Regions from separate parts of the Homo sapiens genome. Here region 2 is linked to region 1. Evidence: promoter capture Hi-C in human tissues and cell types (Jung and others, 2019). All regions are on one chromosome and are shown on one strand. Each heading gives the region's core, a stretch centred on a gene start or on the middle of the fragment in contact. The rest is flanking DNA. Distances are from core to core; before and after follow the strand shown. Region 1 holds the start of TAF8 (TATA-box binding protein associated factor 8). Region 2 has its middle 18 kb from the start of BICRAL.

What was found. The method cuts DNA at HindIII sites, captures the fragments that hold promoters and counts their contacts. A contact is called where the count stands out against the background at its distance.
Region 2: a fragment that was not itself captured here is called in contact with the fragment with the promoter of TAF8 in region 1 in 1 of the 25 tissues and cell types used here (dorsolateral prefrontal cortex).

What each region holds. Positions count from the first base shown.
Region 1 is chr6:42,046,643-42,052,800 of GRCh38, forward strand. It overlaps TAF8 (TATA-box binding protein associated factor 8), which reads left to right and starts at 3,882. Exons shown (of 9, transcript NM_138572.3): 1 at 3,882-3,944; 2 at 4,715-4,871. The coding sequence starts at 3,900. It also overlaps a transcript of CCND3 not described here. RefSeq lists enhancers at 1,699-1,748, 3,505-4,056, 3,838-4,387, 4,057-4,608 and a silencer at 2,119-2,368. The HindIII fragment of the contact is 17,019 bases long and covers 1-6,158 here.
Region 2 is chr6:42,761,421-42,767,578 of GRCh38, forward strand. It overlaps a transcript of BICRAL not described here. Among named protein-coding and RNA genes, the nearest start is that of BICRAL, 18 kb to the right of the region's middle. The HindIII fragment of the contact is 4,121 bases long and covers 1,469-5,589 here.

The sequences.
Region 1 (6,158 bases), core at 2,632-5,131:
CACACGCGCGCGCACACACACACACACAGCCATCAGGAAAGGATACCAGCTCTGTGCAGTTCCCACAACTCTATTCCAGGCCTGCTGGGCTCACTGTAAACAGTACCAGCCCTATGGCTCAGCTAACAGATGGCTGTATCATCCAAGATACAGGACCACAGACTCCCTTTAGGAAACTCCTAAGTTCCTGGCTCAAGTGCACATTTTTTGTGGTCAGCGAAGGAGGCAGGCTAGCCTAATGGTTAAGAATAAAGCCTCCCAAATCAAGTGACCTAGGTTTAAATCCCAGCTCTGCCATTTGTTTCTTGTGTCTGAAGGAAGATTACTTATCTCCAGTGCCTGCGTTTCCTCGTCTATAAAATGGAGAGAATCCTAATGCCTACCTCATAGGACTATATTAGGAGGTTTAAATGAGATATGATCTCTAAGCCACTTAGAAGAGTACCTGACAGTGTTATGTAACTGTTAGCTAGTATTCTAAGCCCTTGAGGGAAGGGGAAGCCGGAAGGAGAAGATGTTTGGGACCATGGAGGTCATGATCTCAATAACTGGCATAGACTAGAACTCTGCTACAATTATCAGAGGCTTTCAGTGTTAAGTTCCAGGGGAAGAAACTCTGATTTGATTACCATGACATCCCCAACAGCTGTGGGAATAGCCTGTGCAGATGGAGTATGGCCATAGCAAATAGGTGCTGAATGAATTCATAAATTGCTGTGTCAGTCATTTCCCGAAGGAGCCCCAGAATTGAACGGCCAGAAGAATCTGTGAGGAAGCAAAGGGAGATCCACTTCTCTATCCACGTCTGGTCCCAAAGAGAAATGAGGTGGTAGGCAGAGGGCAAGGACTCGTCAGAGGAAACAGTCTCAGAGTCCAGGGATGAGGAGGGGGTGCCCAGGATTGTGTGGACTGTCACATCACCCCCAGGTGGACCCTCCCAGCTGTACCCAGCTGGGAATTCCTGGGTTCTTGGGACCCAGCCCAGAAAACTGCCTTTTCTGGGATTCATCCTGTTCATTCCCTTGATGGTTAGACAGTGGATTAAAGGGAGCAGGAATTGTTTCTGGGTCGCCCCTATATTCCAGTGTCCAACACCACAGCTGGGGTTCAATCCAGTTCTGTGGAATAAGTGCCCCCAAAGACTTCTATGCTTTTCATCCTTCTGAACCCAACTCAAATGTCCTTTTCTCTCTGAAGCCTTCCCAGCCACCCCAGCCAGTGTACTTGGCATCTATGTCTATTGTTTTGTGATCCATATTAGCTGTGGATGAATAACATCATTGCACCCTCAGCATTCCATATAATGCCAGGCACATAGTAGGTGTTCAATCAATGCAAATGAATAACTTAATGCTCCCTTAGTAACAGCAACCAATTTATTCAGTTATTCCTCTTGTTGGCACTTCAAGAGACACAGAAGAAGCTAAGATCATCATCTATGTATCAATCAGACACCACTGAGGGGTCCCTCCCTCCAGTTTCATCCCGGTGCACTTGCCAGAGCACTCACAGACTCCCCATCCACACTGGTCTGCCCTCCTACTGGCCTTCCACCCCATCTTTGAGGCATGAGAAGACCAACAGCCCGGTAAAGCCACGGGGCTTCCAGATCAGCTGGAGGGGGTTGTGCCGATGTGTGTACATACAGAGGGCTCAGGGCCTTTGGGGGTTTCTCTGCCCTTCAATTCCGTGCAGAACACCTCACTCAGTGGGAAAGTGAGCCAAGCTTTCGGTGCCAACTAGGAAGTGATGAGGATGCGGCGACCCCATTGACCCACCCAGCACCGATCCCCAACGCATGGTCTCCAGCCTGAGCTGACATCCCATCTACCCCGGTTTCTCCAGCACCCAAGCCTACCTCCTCGTCAGGTGACCTCCCCGGAGCACCGACTGGGGTCGCAGGCGCTCTGTCCCGCCGCCTCCGGAGCCTGCCTTTGGGGAGTGGGGGTGGTCGCAACCACCAGCCGCGAGGAGAGGATTGCACCTCTCCCCCCCGGCCGGCATCCGAACAGAGCCAGTCTCCACCCCTGCAGTGGCGAAGTGTTTACAAAGTCCGCGCCGCGCCGCCGATCCAGAGCTGGGCAGGAAGTGGGGAAGAGGGGGCGGAGGAGACAAAGGGGCTGGTGCTCTGCTCAGCCAAGTTTCGGTCCCCGGCCTGACTCTCCCACCCCCTGTACACCCTCGGCGAGGCCAGGAGGCTCATCCGGCGCCGCGCACCCCCGCCCGCAGCCCCCGCCCCACGCGGCATAGGTGCGGGGGCGGGGCGCCACGGAGGCTCAGGTGTGGGCGGCGGGGCCGGGGCAGCACGGGTTCCCGGACCGCTGCCTCCCGGCGTTGGCAACTCCTCCACGTGCTATCCAGGAAGTAAACAACATCATGAGGAGCGACTTCTTTTTCTTTTTCTTTTTTTTGAGATGGAGTCTCCCTCTGTCGCCCAGGCTGGAGTGCAGTGGCGCGATCTCGGCTCACTGCAACCTCCGCCTCCCGGATTCAAGCTATTCTCCTGCCTCAGCCTCCCGAGTAGCTAGGACTACAGGCGCACGCCGCCACGCCCGGCTAATTTTGTGTATTTTTAGTAGACACGGGGTTTCACCATGTTGGTCAGGCTGGTCTCGAACTCCTGACCTGAGGTGATCCACCCGCCTCGGCCTCTCAAAGTGCTGGGATTACAGGCGAGAGCCACCGCGCCCGGCCGATTTCTTGACTCTTACTACACGTCAGGCACTGTGACAGACTCTTTCTGTGTATCATCTCATCTTTCCCCCAGCTTTACAGAAGAGGAAACTGAGACACACTGAGGATTAAGGTCAAGTGCCCGAAGTACCATAGCTGGCTAGTGTTAGGATCCAAGCCCAGAATCTGCGTCCTGCCAGGCACCTGCAAATGGGGACGAACACGGCGCAGCTAGAGGGGCTGACAGGCTAGGGAGAAAACCACTGGTAGCCGCGGGCACCCCACGCCCTGGGAGTGAGGCGGCAAGGGACAAGTCTCCCGCCCCCTAGACTTGCCTCGCAAATACTTGCGGGTCGAGGGCGCGAAGGCAGCAGGATGCAGCGATAGACTTGGACTAGGTGGTCCAGGCTCTACTTCCAAGTGGGCCATTGACAGGCGGGGCGGCCCTCAGCACAAAATCACCAGGCTGGATGCTCCAGGGTTTCCCAACATTACTCGCTCAGAAGAATCATCTGGGGAGCTCCTTAATGAGAAAGATTCCCAAGCCCCTCTTCCAGAGAGTGAAGTCACTGGGATTGGGCTGGGCCCAGCCAGGTGTTACTAATAATAAGACAAGTTTGGAAAACCCTGCGAGTGTAGATGATCTCCTGGTATGCTCTTTATAAGAACCGATTTTCATATTAAAATAGGTTTCTTTTAACTCAGTGAAACCGGGCGCGTTTTCCTGGCCCACAACCAAGCCACTGAAGGCCCCAGAACACTTCACTCTCAAAAGGTCACGTGAGGCTGGCGCGGTAGCTCACGCCTGTAATCCCAGCACCTTGTGAGGCCGAGGCCGCGGACTGCTTGAGCTTAGGTGTTCGAGACCAGCCTGGCCAACATGGCGAAACTCGGTCTCTACTAAAAATACAAAAACTAGCGGGGCGTGGTGGTGCCCGCCTGTAATCCCAGCTACTCCGGAGGCTGAGGCGGGAGGATCGCTTGAGCCTGGGAGGTGGAGGTTGCAGTGAACCGAGATCGCGCCATTGCACTCTAGCCTGTGAAACGGAGCAAGACTCTGTATCCAAAAAAAAAAAAAAAAAGTCACGTGAGCCGGGGTCACCGGAGGCGTCCCCCAACCGACTGGGCTTCGGAAAACCAAGGGGCGCACGCCGCCCCGCCCCGCCCCGCCCCGCGACTACAAGTCCCATCGCGCCCCGCGCTCGCGCACACTACGCCAGAACAAGATGGCCGACGCGGCGGCCACAGCTGGGGCCGGTGGCTCCGGAACGGTAAGGGCAGGAAGCGCGGGCTCGGAGCCGAGAGAGTTTGGGTATCCTGCAACTTTCCCCTCGACTGAGCAACAAGATAATGCCCAGAAATTCAGCCCCATCATGAGCTCCGACTGGCGGAGGGTGTTTTCAGGCCGTAGGCGCCCCCTCCTTGGGACTTGGCTGCGGCCTCCGGAGTTGGCGGACCTGTGTCTTGATTGGCTCGTTCGCTGTTGGGGGTTGGGAGCCCGGAACACCCCCGATTGGTCTGAAGATGCCGTTTTCGCCTTCTTATTGGCCGGCCAAAGTTGAAAGGCATTCCCGTTTCAAAATATTTAGCTTTCTTACTTTTTTGTGCTTTTATCTTTTGCCCTCCTCTCCTCGCGGTCACCTCTTGTTACTGTTTTCATTTTCCCTTTCAATGAAATGGTGTGAAGATGGGAGGCACAAGAGAGGGATCCTGTTTTTTCTGCGGGACACGTCTTAATCCCATCATGCGTGTTTCTTCAGCTATGTATTCTAATAATCTGCTAAAGTAGAAAGTAAAAGACCTGCTATTTTATCTCATTGGGACTGTACGTTTTAGGTAAGCGGAGAAGTGGTCTCTGTATTTAAAGCACCTTGGGTGCTCAATTTTTACTCAGTTGGCCAAGATCTGTAAATCTAAACATTAAGCACTGATTTTTAAAATAAAATTATTTAGTAAAATAACTTTGCTTGCCGTTGACCACGTATGAACTATGTGATTGCATCCTTCTCCTGTGGATGAAAATCTCTCTGCTGATTCACAGAGATCGGGAAGTAAACAGTCCACTAACCCTGCCGATAACTATCATCTGGCCCGGAGGAGAACCCTGCAGGTGGTTGTGAGCTCCTTGCTGACAGAGGCAGGGTTTGAGAGTGCCGAGAAAGCATCCGTGGAAACGCTGACAGAGATGCTGCAGAGCTGTGAGTACATGGAAACACTTGGCCTTGGAGTCAACCCCAACATCAGTTCTGTGCCCTGCTTTGTGATAGTGTTTGAGAGGATTTAAGAAACAAACTTTTTTCTTAAGAGGGGAGAAAAAAAATTTTTTTTAATGTAAAAAGTTGAGAAAAGAAAACAGCACAATGGGCCGAGCGTGGTGGCTCACGCCTGTAATCCCAGTACTTTAGGAGGCTGAGGCGGGTGGATCACCTGAAGTCAGGAGTTCAAGACCAGCCTGGCCAACGTGGCGAAACCCCGTCTCTACTAAAAAACACACAAAAAAATTAGCTGGGCGTGGTGGCAGGTGTCTATAATCCCAGCCACTCGGGAGACTGAGGCAGGAGAATCGCTTGAATCTGGGAGGCAGAGGTTACAGTGAACTGAGATCGCACCACTGCACTCCAGCCTGTGAGGCTCCATCTCCAACAACAACAACAAAAACAGAAAAGAGCATAATGAAGTGACTTACAGGCTTTAGAATCAGATAGACTTGGTGTACATCATCACTCTGTCACTTAATAGCTTGGGCAAGCCACTGAATCTCCTGAACCTCAATTTCCTCATTTCTGAAATGGGATAACAGTTTCTACCTCATGGATTTGTGAGTGTAAGTGAGATGTATATATAAAACATTCAGTGCTGGGGAGATTTTAAGCTCTTGGTGAGTTATGGGTGCCCTTAAGGACTTTTGTTGGGGAGTCAGGACTAATTCCCCATGCAATAGATATCATCACATTATGTAATGAAATGCTAGATTGTGTGATACAAAGAATGAAGGGGAAAAGCCCCCCCCCCCTTTTTTTTTTTGAGACAGAGTCTCACTGTGTTGCCCAGGCTGGGGTGCAGTGGCACAATCTCAGCTCACTGCAGCCTCCGCCTCCCAGGTTCAAGCAATTCTCCTGCCACAGCCTCCCAAGTAGCTGGGATCATAGGCGTGCACCACCACGCCTGGCTAATTTTTGTATTTTTAGTAGAGACAGGGTTTCACCATGTTGGCCAGGCTGGTCTTGAACTCCTGACCTCAGGTGATCCACCCACCTTGGCCTCTCAAAGTGCTGGGATTACAGGCATGAGCCACTACACCCAGCTGAAAAGCTACTTTTAAAAGGAAATGTGTTGAGATTTAGAAGCCCGGGTGTGGTCTTACAGAGGCTTTTCTGCATGTACAACATATTTCCCTGTTTTGAACTTTTGGGGCATGGGATGGGATGAGGGATGGAAGTATTTACGGTGTTTCTTAGGGATCAACAACTATGAAAGGAAGTAGG
Region 2 (6,158 bases), core at 2,279-4,778, 710 kb after region 1:
CCTGGGCAGCAGAGCTGGAGTGCAATAAATAAATTAATTAATTAATTCTGATTAGTTGTGCAATACTAGCTCTGTGACATTGGAAATGATATTTAACCTCTCTGAGCTTGGTTTCTTTCAACTACAAAGTGCAGATAAAGAAATATATACTTCTTTCATCTGTTGCATGAGATAATTTTAAAAAAGAAAGAAATATTTACTTCTTGGCTGGGCACAGTGGCTCATACTTGTAGTCCCAGAACTTTGGGAGGCTGAGGCAGGAGGATCACTTGAGCCCAGGAGTTCAAGACCAGCCTGGACAACATGGTGAGACCCTGCCATCTCTATAAAAAATACCAAAAAAAATAGCGAGACATGGTGGCACAGGCCTGTAGTCCTAGCTACACAGAAGGCTGAGATCGGAGGATGACTTGAGCCCAGGAGGTCGAGGCTTCAGCGAGCCATGATTGCATCACTGCACTCTATCCTGGGTGACCTTGTCTCAAAAAAAAAAAAGAAAGAAAAAGAAATACGTACTTCTTTCAGGATTATCGTGATGTTAAATAAAGTGCTTACAGTATGGAAAAGTACCAAGTATTGGGCCAGGCCTACAGTAGCTCCTCAAAAATGCCAGGTCCTTCTGCCTTCCAGTCACCACGACCTTTTATACTTTTGTTCTTTTGCAGTTCCCAGTCCTTAAGGTCAGTGGTGGAGCCGAATTTGCTTTGTACTCTATGACTTTCTTGGAAAGGGCCCTTTATTGATTCCCTTATGAATAGGTCTCTGGCCTTTCTGCAATGCTGGGGAATAGTTGGGCAGAATTTACATGTAAATAATGCCAGGAAAAAACAAAACAAAAAGGCCCCAAAGAATCCTAGAAAGACAGAGCTGGGCAAACTCTGAGGGTTCCTTTAATGCCAGGACAAAATTTAACTGGCTTGTAATGAAAGGAAAAGATAAAGATATATAGTGATTTCAATGACAGTTTTAAAAACTTTTTTTAAAGCATTTTTTTTATGAAAGCTTCGCTATCTGTGAAATCTTCACTTTTGGGAACCACTAATCTAATCTTATCTCACTTTACAGATAAGGGCATGTAAAACACTTGTGTGTTATGTAATATTAGTGGTATATGAGGTGTCTTCACAAAGTCTAAGTATTTAATTGTAAGTTCCTGGAGGGATGTGGTTGTGTCTCCTATTTTTTACACCCCATAATCCCAGTTTATGGCATCATGCCTGGCATGTGAGGCACCCAATAATTATCTAGCTGGGTGTGGTAGACACACCTATAATCCCAGCACTTATTCCTTGAGCCTAGGAGTTCAAGACCAGCCTGGGCAACAATGATACTTCGTCTCTACTAACAGTAAAATAACTTAAGCCTGGTGTGGTGGTACACGCCTGTAGTCCCAGCTACCCAGGTGACTGAGGCAGAGGATTGCTTGAGCCTGGGAGGTCGAGGCTGCTGTGAGCCGTGATCATACCCACTGCACTCCAGCTTGGGTAACAGAGTGAGACTCTGTCTCAAAAAAAAAAAAAAATCTATTGAATGAATAAATGAAATAGCCTGGCACTCTTGAACCTTAGATTGTAATGATATTTATTCTTACTGATAGAGCTAGTAAACTCCTCGAGGGAGCCTCTGCCCCTTATTGTCCAGTAGAACAGATTCTCTGGGTGAATGAGCCCAAAGGTCAAACAGATCAAGCATTTTCAAGAAAAGATAACCCAATAACCTGAATCATAGCAGGAACCACGAGGTACTTCACTTATATTATCTCATTTAATCTTCATGGTAATCTTGCCAGGAGGGTAATCATTTGAAGCAAGAACAGGTTTAAGATTTCTTAAAAGACACAGATGTAAGTCTTTAATACAGATTGGGAAGAGGATTACTTTTTCTGTCTCAGGTTCTTCAGGATAAAGGATAAAGATTTGGAGATCGTTTAAAAGCTTTTATATAAATGCTCATTCACTGAGTTCAAATACTTTTAAAATGTCCTGGCAGTTGAAAGTTAAATAAGAAGCAAAAAATTATTCTTCTGCCTAGAATTTTTAAGGTTATCTTCTTTAGGTAGGATTTTATTGTTTGCTATGATGTGCCGCTTTTCTTGAAATACTACAAACCAGTGTTTTCAGCTGGGTGCGGTGGCTCACACCTGTAATTTCAGCACTTTGGGAGGCTAAGGCAAGCGGATCACTTGAGGTCAGGAGTTCAAGACCAGCCTGGCTGACATGGTGAAACCCCATCTCTACTAAAAATGTAAAAATTAGCTGGGCATGGTGGCATGTGCCTGTAATCCCAGGTACTTGGGAGGCTAAGGCAAGAGAATCACTTCAACCCGGGAGGTGGAGGTTGCAGTGAGCCAAGATTACACCACTGCACTCCAGCCTGAGCAACAGAGTGAGACTCTGTCTCAGAAAAAAACAAAAAACAAACAAAAAAAACGAGCGTTTTCAAAATGCAGGTACCAAGCCAGTGAGGTCATGAAATGCATTTAGTGCATTAAAAAAAAAAAAAAAAGACAAAAGAAAATAGCATATTAAATGTCTGCCAAGGCTGGGCACAGTGGCTCACACCTGTAATCCCAGCACTTTGGGAGGCCGAGGCGGGCAGATCACCTGAGGTCAGGAGTTCAAGACCAGCCTGGCCAACATGGTGAAACCCTGTCTCTACTAAAAATACAAAAATTAGCCGGGTGTGGTGGCACGCGCCTGTAGTCCCAGCTACTCGGGAGGCTGAGGCAGGAGAATCACTTGAACCTGGGAGGCAGAGGTTGCAGTGAGCCAAGATCATGCCACTGTACTCCAGCCTGGGCGACAGAGCAAGACTTTGTTTCCGAAAAAAAAAAAACAAAAATGTCTGTCGGGCACAGTGGCCCACACCTGTAATCCCAGCACTTTGGGAGGCGGAGGTGGGTGGGAGGATTGCTTGAGCCTAGGAGTTCAAGACCAGCCTAGGCAACATGGCGTAACCTCGTCTCCACAAAAATAAAAAAAATTAGCCAGGTGTGGTGGCACGTGCCTGTAGTCCCAGCTACTCCAGAGGCTGAGGTTGGAGGATCACCTGAGCCTGGGAAGTTGAGGCTGCAGTGAGCCATGATTGCACCTGGGCAGCAGAGTAAGACTCTGTCTTAAAAAAAAAAAAAAGAGTTTTGTGTTGCATATATAGATTTATATTATGTAACTGTATTCTATATATACACATACACGACTTGAGAGATAGGTTGTATTCTTTTTATAGGTTATGGGGTCTTTTGTTTGTTTGTTTTTTTGAGACGGAGTCTTGCTTTGTCACCCAGGCTGGAATGCAGTGGTGCGATCTCAGCTCACTTGCAAGCTCTGCCTCCCGGGTTCATGCCATTCTCCTGCCTCAGCCTCCCGAGTAACTGGTACTACAGGCGTGTGCCACCACGCCTGGCTAAGTTTTTGTATTTTTAGTAGAGACGGGATTTTACCGTATTAGCCAGGATGGTCTTGATCTCCTGACCTTGTGATCCACCCGCCTCAACCTCCCAAAGTGCTGGGATTACAGGCATGAGCGACCACGCCCGGCCTAGGTTATGTTTTAAAAATGTTAGAAAAACGTTTTGTGAATAAATGATGCCTTGCACTTTATGGGGCTCAGAAGTGTTTGTTGAATTGGATAAAGAGCTGTCTTTGTGTCATTACAACGCTGTAGCAATAAGGAACTATGCATGCTGAGCCAACTCCTGTGAAATGTCTTGTCAAGTGAGAACCTATTTGTGCTGCAGAGACTTTTCCCTTCTGTAGTTGGTAATAATAATGAAAGTTTGCTTTTACAAAGTAACTATTACAAAGTTGCATTATTATTGCTAAACAGTGAAAGAGGCTGATTTGGAGGACGGAATAATGGCAGGAAACATTTAGGAATGTGAATGCGTAACAGGGCTATGTTGCCAGGGATTTGTAGCTCTGACAATTGGGAGTTCTCTCTGGGAGAGATCCCAGTGGTCCATGACATGTAGTAATTTGAAATTTGCTGAGGCGCAAATTCAAGTACATCCTAGGAGGCTTGTGGGGAGGGAGACAGTCATTGAGCTAGTGAGCAAGCCACGCCCCCTGCTCCATGTATGTGTTTAAACATGGCATGCATGCTATTTTTTTCTGTTCTTTGTCTTCACAGAGTAATTCCCTTCAGGTAATAGAAACTCTTTTCATCTGAAGAATGATGATGAAGTGAAAGGTGAAGCTTGAGTGAAATGTGTGTTGCAAACATAAGCCAAGGAAAATATAGGCTCTTGATAAAGGTGTGAGTTCCCCAGAAAGCCAGAGCCACTGTAGGACTTCATGTATCGTACAAGTGGGCGATTCCTGGTGCTCTCTTGTTGGTAGCTCTACAGGCTGTCAGGGATCAAGGCAATATTATTTGCTGCTTTTTTTTTAAGAACCTGTAGGGGTGAGCATTGATTTGAGGCAATATATAATGATTGATTATATAGCCTGTGGAAGATAGAAACTTAGTGTGTAGAAATCGTTTAAAAAGAGGAAAAACTATATTGTATATGTGGGGATTTGTTTGTTTGCTACTAATTCCAGTGCTTTTTGTTTTTGTTTTCTATTTATTTCTTTTGAGACCAGGTTATAAGACTGGCTAATTTTTGTATTTCTGGTAGAGACAGGATTTTGCCCAGGCTGGTCTCGAACTCCTGGGCTCAAGCTATCCATCCACCTTAGCTTCCCAAAGTGCTGGGAATGCAGATGTGAGCCACCATGCCCAGCCTTCCGGTACTTTTTCATCAATTGCTTTAGGAGTGACTTTGTAAAGTTCTCTGATATTATCTGAGTAGTCAAGTTCTTTAGGATTGTGTCATCAGTCTCAAGTTTGCCCAGAGCTGGGGCTTTTCCACAAATCTTGGGGGTAAGAGAGAGAGATGAAGAGTTGGAGCCAGGACAAGGATCGTCAGTGGGAAAATCAGGACCAGATTCTGCTTCTACCTTCATGTGTAGATGCTGACTCTTTTGAAAGAACTACAATAAAGTCACCTGTGGATTGACCCACATGCCTTAGCTCTGAAACACGCAAACTGGCTAACTGGGGAATCCACTCCCATGCCATTCTCTAATATTTGTTCATCTAAACTTAGCATCCTGTAATGTGCTTGTGAGTCATAATTGCAATTGTAGAAAGAGAAAGAGGCCTGGCACAGTGGGTCACGCCTGTAATAGCACTTTGGGAGGCCGAGCGGGTGGATCACTTGAGGTTAGCAGTTTGAGACCAGCCTGGCCAACATGGTGAAACCCCATCTCTGCTAAAAATACAAAAATTAGCTGGGTGTGGTGGTGAGCACCAGTAATCCGAGCTACTCGGGAGTCTGAAACAGAAGAATTGATTGTGCCGGGTGCCGTGGCTCACACCTGTAATCCCAGCACTTTGGGAGGCCAAGGCGGGCGGATCATGAGGTCAGGAGATCGAGACCATCCTGGCTAACACAGTGAAACCTCGTCTCTACTAAAAATACAAAAAATTAGCCGGGCGTGGTGGCAGGCGTCTGTAGTCCCAGCTACTCGCGAGGCTGAGGCAGGAGAATGGCGTGAACCCGGAAGGCGGAGCTTGCAGTGAGCTGAGATGGCGCCACTGTACTCCAGCCTGGGCAACAGAGTGAGACTCCATCTCAAAAAAAAAAAAAAAAGAAGAAGAATAGATTGAACCTGGGAGGCAGAGGTTGTAGTGAGCCAAGATTGTGCCACTGCACTCCAGCCTGGGCGACAGAGTTAAGCCTCTGTCTCAAAGAAAGAAAGAGAAAGAAAAGAGGAGAGAGGAATGTCAACTTAATTAATTGTTTAAAAAGAGGAAAAACTGTGTTGTATGTGTGTGGATTTGTCTGTTTGCTTATTAATTCCAGTGCTTTTTTTTGTTTTCTATTTATGTCATTTAATTATTAATTAATGTCATTTAATTTTAAATGAGAAATTATGCCTCATGTAAAAGTTTTTTTGTAAAAGGCTAGGCTGAGATTCATTCATTGCCTCACCATGGATGCCACCATGAGTCTAACTCTGCTGTCTCAGCTCTGCAAACACAGATGATAGATGGGCATCTCATCTGAACATCATTAGGTCCAGGGAACACTTGTCCATGCCACCCTGACTGACTTTAATCCAGTGGGTGTTTGTTGAGTGTCTGCTACCTGCAACACCAGCCAGGTGGCTTGA